3 separate regions of the Homo sapiens genome follow, and regions 1 and 3 are each linked to region 2. The links are contacts of gene promoters, found by promoter capture Hi-C in human tissues and cell types (Jung and others, 2019). All regions are on one chromosome and are shown on one strand. The core of a region is centred on a gene start or on the middle of the fragment in contact, and the rest is flanking DNA. Distances in the headings are between cores, read along the strand shown.

Evidence for each region. The method cuts DNA at HindIII sites, captures the fragments that hold promoters and counts their contacts. A contact is called where the count stands out against the background at its distance.
Region 1: a fragment that was not itself captured here is called in contact with the fragment with the promoter of LRRC32 in region 2 in 1 of the 25 tissues and cell types used here (lymphoblastoid cells).
Region 3: a fragment that was not itself captured here is called in contact with the fragment with the promoter of LRRC32 in region 2 in 1 of the 25 tissues and cell types used here (neural progenitor cells).

Annotation. Positions count from the first base shown.
Region 1 is chr11:76,232,974-76,235,673 of GRCh38, forward strand. TRP-AGG2-4 (tRNA-Pro (anticodon AGG) 2-4) reads left to right here and starts at 2,540; the gene lies at 2,540-2,611. RefSeq lists enhancers at 419-965, 1,513-2,059, 2,060-2,605. The HindIII fragment of the contact is 3,098 bases long and covers 1-2,700 here.
Region 2 is chr11:76,669,421-76,672,120 of GRCh38, forward strand. LRRC32 (leucine rich repeat containing 32) reads right to left here and starts at 1,327. Exons shown (of 3, transcript NM_001128922.2): 1 at 1,194-1,327. RefSeq lists silencers at 1,082-1,211, 1,272-1,471. The HindIII fragment of the contact is 10,955 bases long and covers 1-2,700 here.
Region 3 is chr11:76,395,376-76,398,075 of GRCh38, forward strand. All of the region lies in intron 1 of GVQW3 (GVQW motif containing 3), which reads left to right. Among named protein-coding and RNA genes, the nearest start is that of GVQW3, 15 kb to the left of the region's middle. The HindIII fragment of the contact is 9,534 bases long and covers 1-2,700 here.

The DNA.
Region 1 (2,700 bases), core at 101-2,600, 440 kb before region 2:
TGGTCCTGCATACTCTGGCCTCTGTGCCCTGACATTCTTTTTTTTTTTTTTTTGAGGCAGGGTCTCACTCTGTCACCCAGGCTGGCTGGAGTGCAGTGGCGCGATCTCCGCCTCCCAGGTTCAAACGATTCTCATGCCTCAGCCTCCCAAGTAGCTGGGATTAAAGGCATGCCATCACACCTGGCTAATTTTGTAGTTTTAGTAGAGATGGGGTTTCGCCATGTTGGCCAGGCTGGTCTCAAACTCCTGACCTCAAGTGATCTGCCCGCCTTGGCGTGAGCCACCCCGTGCCCTGCCTCCCTGACATTCTTGAGCCTACTTGCTCCACGCAGGCCTCTTAGCCAGAACTTTTCTGGTTGGAAAGTCACCTTCTCACCTACTGGAGCCCTTCCTGCCCTGCTACCCCACTGGCTAGTGAGGTCATCTCCAAGGGTCCCAGCTCTGGCAGAGGGACCAAAGAATCCCACCACCTCCCTAAGAAGTTTCTTGGCTGACAGGCATTTTGTGCCAATGGAGGGGGCAAGCAAGCCTTGAACCTCTGACTCACGCCAGGCTTTGAGCTGTTACGGTGTCTTTTTTTGGCTTTGGGTTTTACAGAAAGACAAAGTACCACTCATTCAACAAACGCTTTACAGGTCATCTGCATTGGGCCCTGTGCTGACATGGCCACTCCTCAGGGAACCCTCCCTCACACTCTTGTGGGTAGAGACACAGATGTGTGCAGGGGTCAGGCATCCAGGCAACAGGGAGTGCAGGGGCTGGGGGCACTTGGAGAGGTGTCTGCCTGGAGGTGGAGGTGGTGGTGCAGAAACCGCAAGGCCTGGAATGTGCAGGAAGCTGGGGGCAGCCCCAGCTGGAATGAGCAGCTTCCACTGGAGCCATGGCTGGAGTGTTCACGGAGTGAGGAGGGCCTGAAGAGAGGTGAGTGGGGAGGGGTCAGGCCTCAGAAAGCCCAGGTGGCAGGTAAAGAGCTCAGCCATTGCTCCCAGGGTGGAGCCACCGCAGGGTTTGAAGAGACTGTGGGTGTGGGACTGTCCATGGGGAAGGCCTGTCTGGAGGCACAGAAGGCCCGGGCAGAGGATGTAAGGTCCTGGGTGTGTGTCCAGGCCATAGCCTCATTTAGCAGTAACCACAGTCCGCCAGGGCCCAGACTGAGCTCCTTGCAGACCAGTCCACAGCCTTGGGCTAGGCAGAGGGTGCAGCCAGTGTGGCAACCACTGGGCAGGGGGTTCAGGAGGCAGGGTTGACTCATCAGTGTCCCCAGGGCCCAGCCCGGGGGTGGGGCAGAGCAGGCGCCAGTGGAAGTGTGTTGTGGAGTGAAAGAAGCTTTACAAAGGCTTCCAGCGACTGACTGAAGGTATTTCTTCCTGCCCGCACATCCTCAGACCTGGGAATAAGGAAACGTGAGGCTCCAGCCAGCTCCTGAAGGCGCAGGACATAGCTGAAAGGAGTTTGGAAAAGGGCCACTGGGCAAAAGTCCTTCCAGGGCGTCACAGTCTCAGTTTCCTCATCTTGAAGTCAGGGTGTGTGGGGGGTGGAAAGGGGTGGGGAGGGAGAGAGAGCGCAACGGAAATTGGCTGGACTGATCTGCACCGCTGGCTCTGCACTGCTAGTAGCCTTGTGATGGAGGCCAGCACAGCCACTACCTTCCGCTCTCCTACGGGGGACAGGGCGCGGTGGTGGGGAGCTCCCAATTCTCTCTGGCAGGCAAGAAGGCAGACCTTGTGACCCCGTTTTCACCAGGGGGGCATGCTGAACACATTGGCTACGTGTCCCAAGGACACTGAGTCACGAGGTGGAAGAGCTCCATGGAACCCGTTTCTCGGAGTGGGTCTGGCACCCCTGTTCCCCACAGAGGCTTCTCGGGGAGCCTAGAACCCATGGACCGTGGACGCAGAGGCGAAGCACGGGAAACCGTGCCAGGCGCCCCACGTGCTGGGAGGCCCATTCGGTGAACCAGAGTCGGTGGGTTCCGCCCAGGATTCGGTAGCTAAACCGAGAAACTGCACATCTGACCCAGCCCTGACCGAAATGTCAGGCCAAAGCCTCACAATGTCAGTTACCCTCCCACAAAGCTAGACATCCAGGAACCCCAAGACCCAGGCTGCGCAGTCATGATGACGATGATGATGATGTGATGTTTGGAACGCGGGCGCGTTAGGGAGCTCCACACATGGTTCAGAGAGAATTCTCCTGCCCAGGATCCCAGCCCGCCGCCCCCAGCCCCTGGTCTGCAGTTCTGCGCGTCCCGCCCCAGCTCCCAGGTCCAGTGTAAACTCGTGGTCCCTGCATCTGCAGAAAGGCACATTTCCCCTCTGCAGCGCGGACTGATTGCGTTCTCGCTGCGTCCAGATCCAGGGCTCGCCGGCGACAGAGCCAGTCTCGGGGTCCCACTGTGCGGATACCGGATTGGTAATCCGAGGCGAGCCCTAAGCGCACACGCCATTGGTGGGTCCTGTGCGGCCGGGACGGGAAGGCGCAGGCTCTAGGGTGCCTCCTATTCTACTTACAAAGCGAAACGAAAACTCTTACGAGCGACGGCTCGTTGGTCTAGGGGTATGATTCTCGCTTAGGGTGCGAGAGGTCCCGGGTTCAAATCCCGGACGAGCCCTCATTTTCTTTCCCTTCCTTTTTCCGCATCTCCTTCCTTTTCCTGCATCTCCGTTCTCTAAATACAGAACTTATCGAGCTGGAAGAATT
Region 2 (2,700 bases), core at 77-2,576:
GGGTACGGGGGGCAATGACTACTACCACAATAAGCCCACCCCTACATTTAAGGATGTTAGTCTTCTAAGCACTTGACCTATATCATCTCATTTAATTCTCACAATCACCTATTGAGGAAATTACTGTAATTCCCATTTTACGGATGAGAAAACAGTTTCCGGAAAGTGAAGTGACTTACCCCCAGAGTTACCCAGCTCATAAGGGCTTTGGAGCTGGGATTTATCCAGTTCTACATGACCTGAATACTGTGTTTTCTCCAGCACATGCTGAGCCGACTGCCCCCAATAGAACTGTCTTTTTTTTGCCCATGAAGAAAAGGAGGCTCAGAGAAGTGACTTACCCAAAGTCACACAAGGAGAAAATAGCAGGGTCACGATCAGAATCCAGTTCATCTGTCTCCAAAGCAAATGTTCCCACTATACCAAATCAAGGTCTCCTTCCCTAAGCCCTGCCAACGACCCCTCACACGCAGGAGCAGGGCAGACTAGCTCACAGTCTGGCCTCTGAGGTCCTCTCTCCCTCCTCTCGGCCTCAGCTGACTTACTGGCAGAGTGGGGTCCTGGGAGAGCTGCTGCGGACGTTCCTGTCAAGCAGTGAATCACTAAGGGCAAGCCTCGTTCTGGAGACATGTGCATCCCACGGGGGAATTAGACCTTAACCCAAAGGAATGTGGCTGTGATGGCGGAATTTCAGGCAGCTCGGCGTGGGGGTGGGGGCCCCTCACATCTTACCACCCATGAAGAAGGCTGGGTTCAGAGCCCCTTGGAGAGCGGTGGGTGCCCCCTACCCCACTACGAGAAATGGGCAGGCCATCTAGTGCTGTGGGATGGGCAGCCCCACGCCTGGCTGGGATCGGAGCGTTGCAGGAAACCTGAATTCAAATTCCGGTTTGCCCTTGCCTAGCTGTGTGTTCCTGGGCAAGTCACGGTCTTCAGGCCATTGTTTTCCCAGCTGTCAAATGGGAAGGCCGGCCTCACCCCTTTGCGGGAAAGATCCGCCAAGACAGGAGCGCTGGGGAACTCCCAGGGACCGAGGGAGGGTCAGCCCCGGCTCCACGCGCGCAGTGGGGATGGCGGGAGGGGAGTGTTTGGGGGGCGTCCCTTGGGACCAGCCCCCGCCTTGCGCTCGCTAGAGGCGCGCGACAGTGCGCCCCCCGAGGGCCGGCCAGCCTCGCCTGCCCGGCGGCTCCTACCTGGCTCAGCGCGGCCGCAGCTCCTCTCCCGGGCAGTCTCGGCACATTTTGCGCAAACCCGCCCCCGGGTCCCACCCCGCGCCAGACCCCGGGGTCACGGCCCGAGGAGGAGCAGGCCGCTCAGCTGCCCCACCGGAGCCCCCGCGCTCCGGCTGCAATTTAAATACCTCTCCCGCCGGCCCGCCCCGCCACGCCCCCCTCTGGCGAGGCCGTGGGGTCCTAGCGCCTGGCCCCGTGCCTCGGTTTATCCGGAGCCGGCGGGGGCGGAGTGGGGTGGGGCGGCGAAGCATCTTCACCACCCTGGGACCTCGGCCGGGAAGGGGCGGGGGCCCAGTGTGGGGGGATGAGAGGGCGGGAGGGAGAGGGGTTGCAGAGGAAGCGCCGTGGGAGCGAGGCCCATCCCAGCGGCCGCCGCACGTGCAGTTCGCGGCCCCGCGGGGTCCGGAGGGGGGCGCGGTGGCTCTAGGAGCCGCAGGTCCACAGAGGAAATCCGGCCTGGCCCCGATTTCCCAGCTGCTGGCGCCGCCGCACTTAACGCGGGGGCAAACAGGCGAGGTGACGGCGGGGCTGAATGCGGAAGGAAATGACCCTTCGCTGGCCCTGGGGCGGCCGCGGAGGGGGTTCCCCGCACCAAGCCGTCCACTCTGGTGGGTCCTGGCAGGTCACTTTTCCTCTCCGGATTGTGCTCTAGTGTCTGGACCCGTACTCCTCCATCATCTGCGGGACCCTTCAACAGCCTGTGAAACGGCACCATCAAAGTCCTGTTTTCGGATGGAGAAGCTGAGGCTAGGGGTGGGGGCAGTGTGTACACATGAAAACCAATTGTCTGAGACTAGTAAGGTCCCTATTTATAGCTGGGGAACCTGAGGCTCAGAAAAGGTTAAATGGCGTGTCCAAAGTCAACACAGCTAATAAGAATCAGTGATTTGAGCCCAATCTGTTCATAAAGCTAAGTCTGATTCAGTTTGGGCATTATCTTGCCCGAATTTTTAAAGTACTGTGCAAATATGGGGTGGCGGTATTGTCATTTAGATTGGAGGTTGAAGCAGATCTTTCCCAAAGCCACCTCTCTTCTAGATGCCTTGACCCTACCAAATCACAGGTACCCTGCCTTGCTGCCTGTGGACTCTAGTATGCGGGTCCCTAGAAGAGAGGGGCCCTGGCTGTCCTCCAGGTCCTGGTTCCAAGTGTAGAAGGGGCCTCTTCCACAGTGTTTCTCTTCCCTGATCGTCACCAGCCCTGAGAGTGGGGCAGGGTGCCCCATTTTACATGCATGAAAGTGACCACCCAGGGCCTTGTGGCAAATCAGGGTAAGGCTGGGCTCAGAAGCGGGATTCCCTGAAGTCTCTACAGTTACTGCCTTTTCTTACCCCTGTTCAGTCCACTGTGGAGATGGATCTGGGGAGATGGGGTCAACCCAGAGAGGACAAGCCATGATAGCAGGTGCCATAGGGGCCTGACCTAGTCTTAGAAGAGGAAATCAGGGAAGGCTTCCCTAAGGAGGAGG
Region 3 (2,700 bases), core at 180-2,679, 270 kb before region 2:
TTTATATTTTGTGTAATAATCCCATACTGTGTTACTTATTTTGTTGCTCAAGTTGTTCCAGCTTTGGCCATTGGGTGTTTTTTCAGGTTGGCTTCTGTGTCTCTTTGATGTGCTTCCAACCTTTTGTTTTTTCTTAGCAGGTCCTTACCTTCTGGTACTACAATATGCTCCAAGATTATCTTGTTTTTTGCCTTCCACACCTGTGACCAGCCATTTCTCTATTCTCGATTTCTGTCTAGCCCTGGTTCCTTTTATTGGAGAATGGTGTTTAGAAAGCAAGATATGGGCAGTGAGTGTATTGCTACTGGAATTTGGGTCTTTTTGATATCTTCCATGTCTCTACTTAACAAGCTCAATTTTTTCTTTAGGTTATTGATCACATGGAATACAGTGATAATAGTTTTAATGACCTTATCTATCAATTTTACCTATCTCCCTCAGTTTCATTTGACTGATTTTTGGAAATAGCTTTTGGCTATTACTTTTAAGCTTTGTTAGATGAGACCAGAGTAATATTAGTCTAGGGCTAATTTTGCCCCAGTGTTGAGGGCACCCGAAACCTTATGAAATATGTCTTGCCACTCTAGATGTTAGGAATAGGAAGTGGACCTGTGTGATCTCCAAAAATGGTTCCTTCTAATCCTTTTAGGCAGTTCTTTCTCTGGCCTCTGGTAGTTTCCTTACATACATGCTGAAGACTTGAGGGGGCTTTGTATATTTGGAAGCAATGTTGCCAGGTGGTACTCAGAGGTTCTGGGATATATCTTCCTGGTGAACTTTTCCTTTTATCATTATCATTATCATATGATTCTTTATCCCTAGTAATTATTTTTGGCTTAAAAGCTGTCAATATTGCATTATTTTGCTTAGCATTTGCCTAGTATATTTTCCCATCGTTTTAACATTTCTGTGCTGCTATTATTATTATTATTATTTTATTATTATTATTATTTTTTGAGACAGGGTCTCACTCCTGTTGCCCAGGCTGGAGTACAGTGGCACAATCTCAGCTCACTGCAAACTACGCTTCCCGGGCTCAAGGGATCCTCCCACCACAGCCCCCGAAGTAGCTGGGACTGCAGGTGCCTGCCACCACACCCAGCTAATTTTGTATTTTTTTGTAGGGATAGAGTTTCATCACATTGCCCAGGCTGGTCTCGAACTCCTGGGGCCAAGCAGTCATCCCACCTTGGCCTCCTAAAGTGCTGAGATTACAGGCATGAGCCACCATGCCTGGGCTCAAATTAGATGTTTTAACAGCCAGTGTTTATTTAGATTTATAAACCTGCATACCGGCTTCGTTGCCTATCTTTCTCTCTTTTTACTGAAATATAATTCATATCCAATAAAATCGTTAGTATATTTACAAAATTGTAGAACCATCACCACTAATTTTAGAACAGATTACAGCATTCCACAAGGAAACCCCCTACCCATTAGCAGTTTCCTCATTTTCTTTAATCCCCTGGCAACCACTCATATACTTTCTGTTTCTATGGATTTGCCTATTTTGGAGATTTCATATAAATGGAATCATAATATGTAGCCTTTTATGTCTGGCTTCTTTCACTTAGCCTAATGTTTTTAAGGTTCATCCACGTTGGAGCATGGGTCAGTCATTTATTCCTTTTTTTTTTTTTTTTTTTTGAGATGGAGTTTCGCTCTTGTTGCCCATGCTAGAGTGCAATGGTGATCTCAGCTCACCACAACCTCCACCTCCAGGGTTCAAGTGATTCTCCTGCCTTAGCCTCCCGAGTAGCTGGGACTACAGGTGCGCACCACCACGCCCAGCTAATTTTTGTATTTTTAGTAGAGACGGGATTTCACCATGTTGGCCAGGATGGTCTCAATCTCTTGACCTCATGATCTGCCCACCTTGGCCTCCCAAAGTGCTGGGATTACAGGCATGAGCCACCACACTCAGCCCCTTCATTCCTTCTTATGGCTGAATAACATTCCATTGTGTGAATCTACCACATTCTATTTATTTATCAGTTGATGGACATTTAGGTTGTTTTCGGCTTTTGGCTATTATGCAGAATACTGCTATGAATGCTCATGTACAAGGTTTTTGTGAACATACGTTTTTAATTCCCTTAGGTATACACCTAGGAGCGGTATTCATAAGTAATTCATTATTTCTTGTATTCACTGGTATGCTGGTAAATATTTAACACCAGTTTTCACTTGGTAGGGTTGGGGATCTCTGATTTGTAACATTTGTTAATTTCTAGAGTGTAAATATTCAAATTACCAATGTGGCATCATTGAATGTAGAACTGGGAACAGATGCAGAGTAGTACACCATTCTATAGTATGTCTACTGTATAAACACAGGAGATACAAATAAAAGTTGCATGGTTGATAGCATAATGTGGTAAAATAATTAAGAAGGCATGCATTGTGAGGATTTTTGACCTTTATATTTAAAGTGATTCATTTAATTGTAAGTTTACATAATTTAATGTTTGAAAATGGGCCGGTTGCAGTGGCTTATGCCTGTAATTCCAGCACTTTGGGAGGCTGAGGCGGGTGGATCATCTGAGGTCAGGAGTTTTGAGACCAGCCTGGCCAACATGGTGAAACCCCATCTCTACAAAAGTATGAAAAGTAGCCTGGTGTGGTGGCCTGTGCCTGTAGTCTCAGCTACTCGGGAGGCTGAGGTACGAGAATCCCTTGAACCCAGGAGGCAGAGGTTGT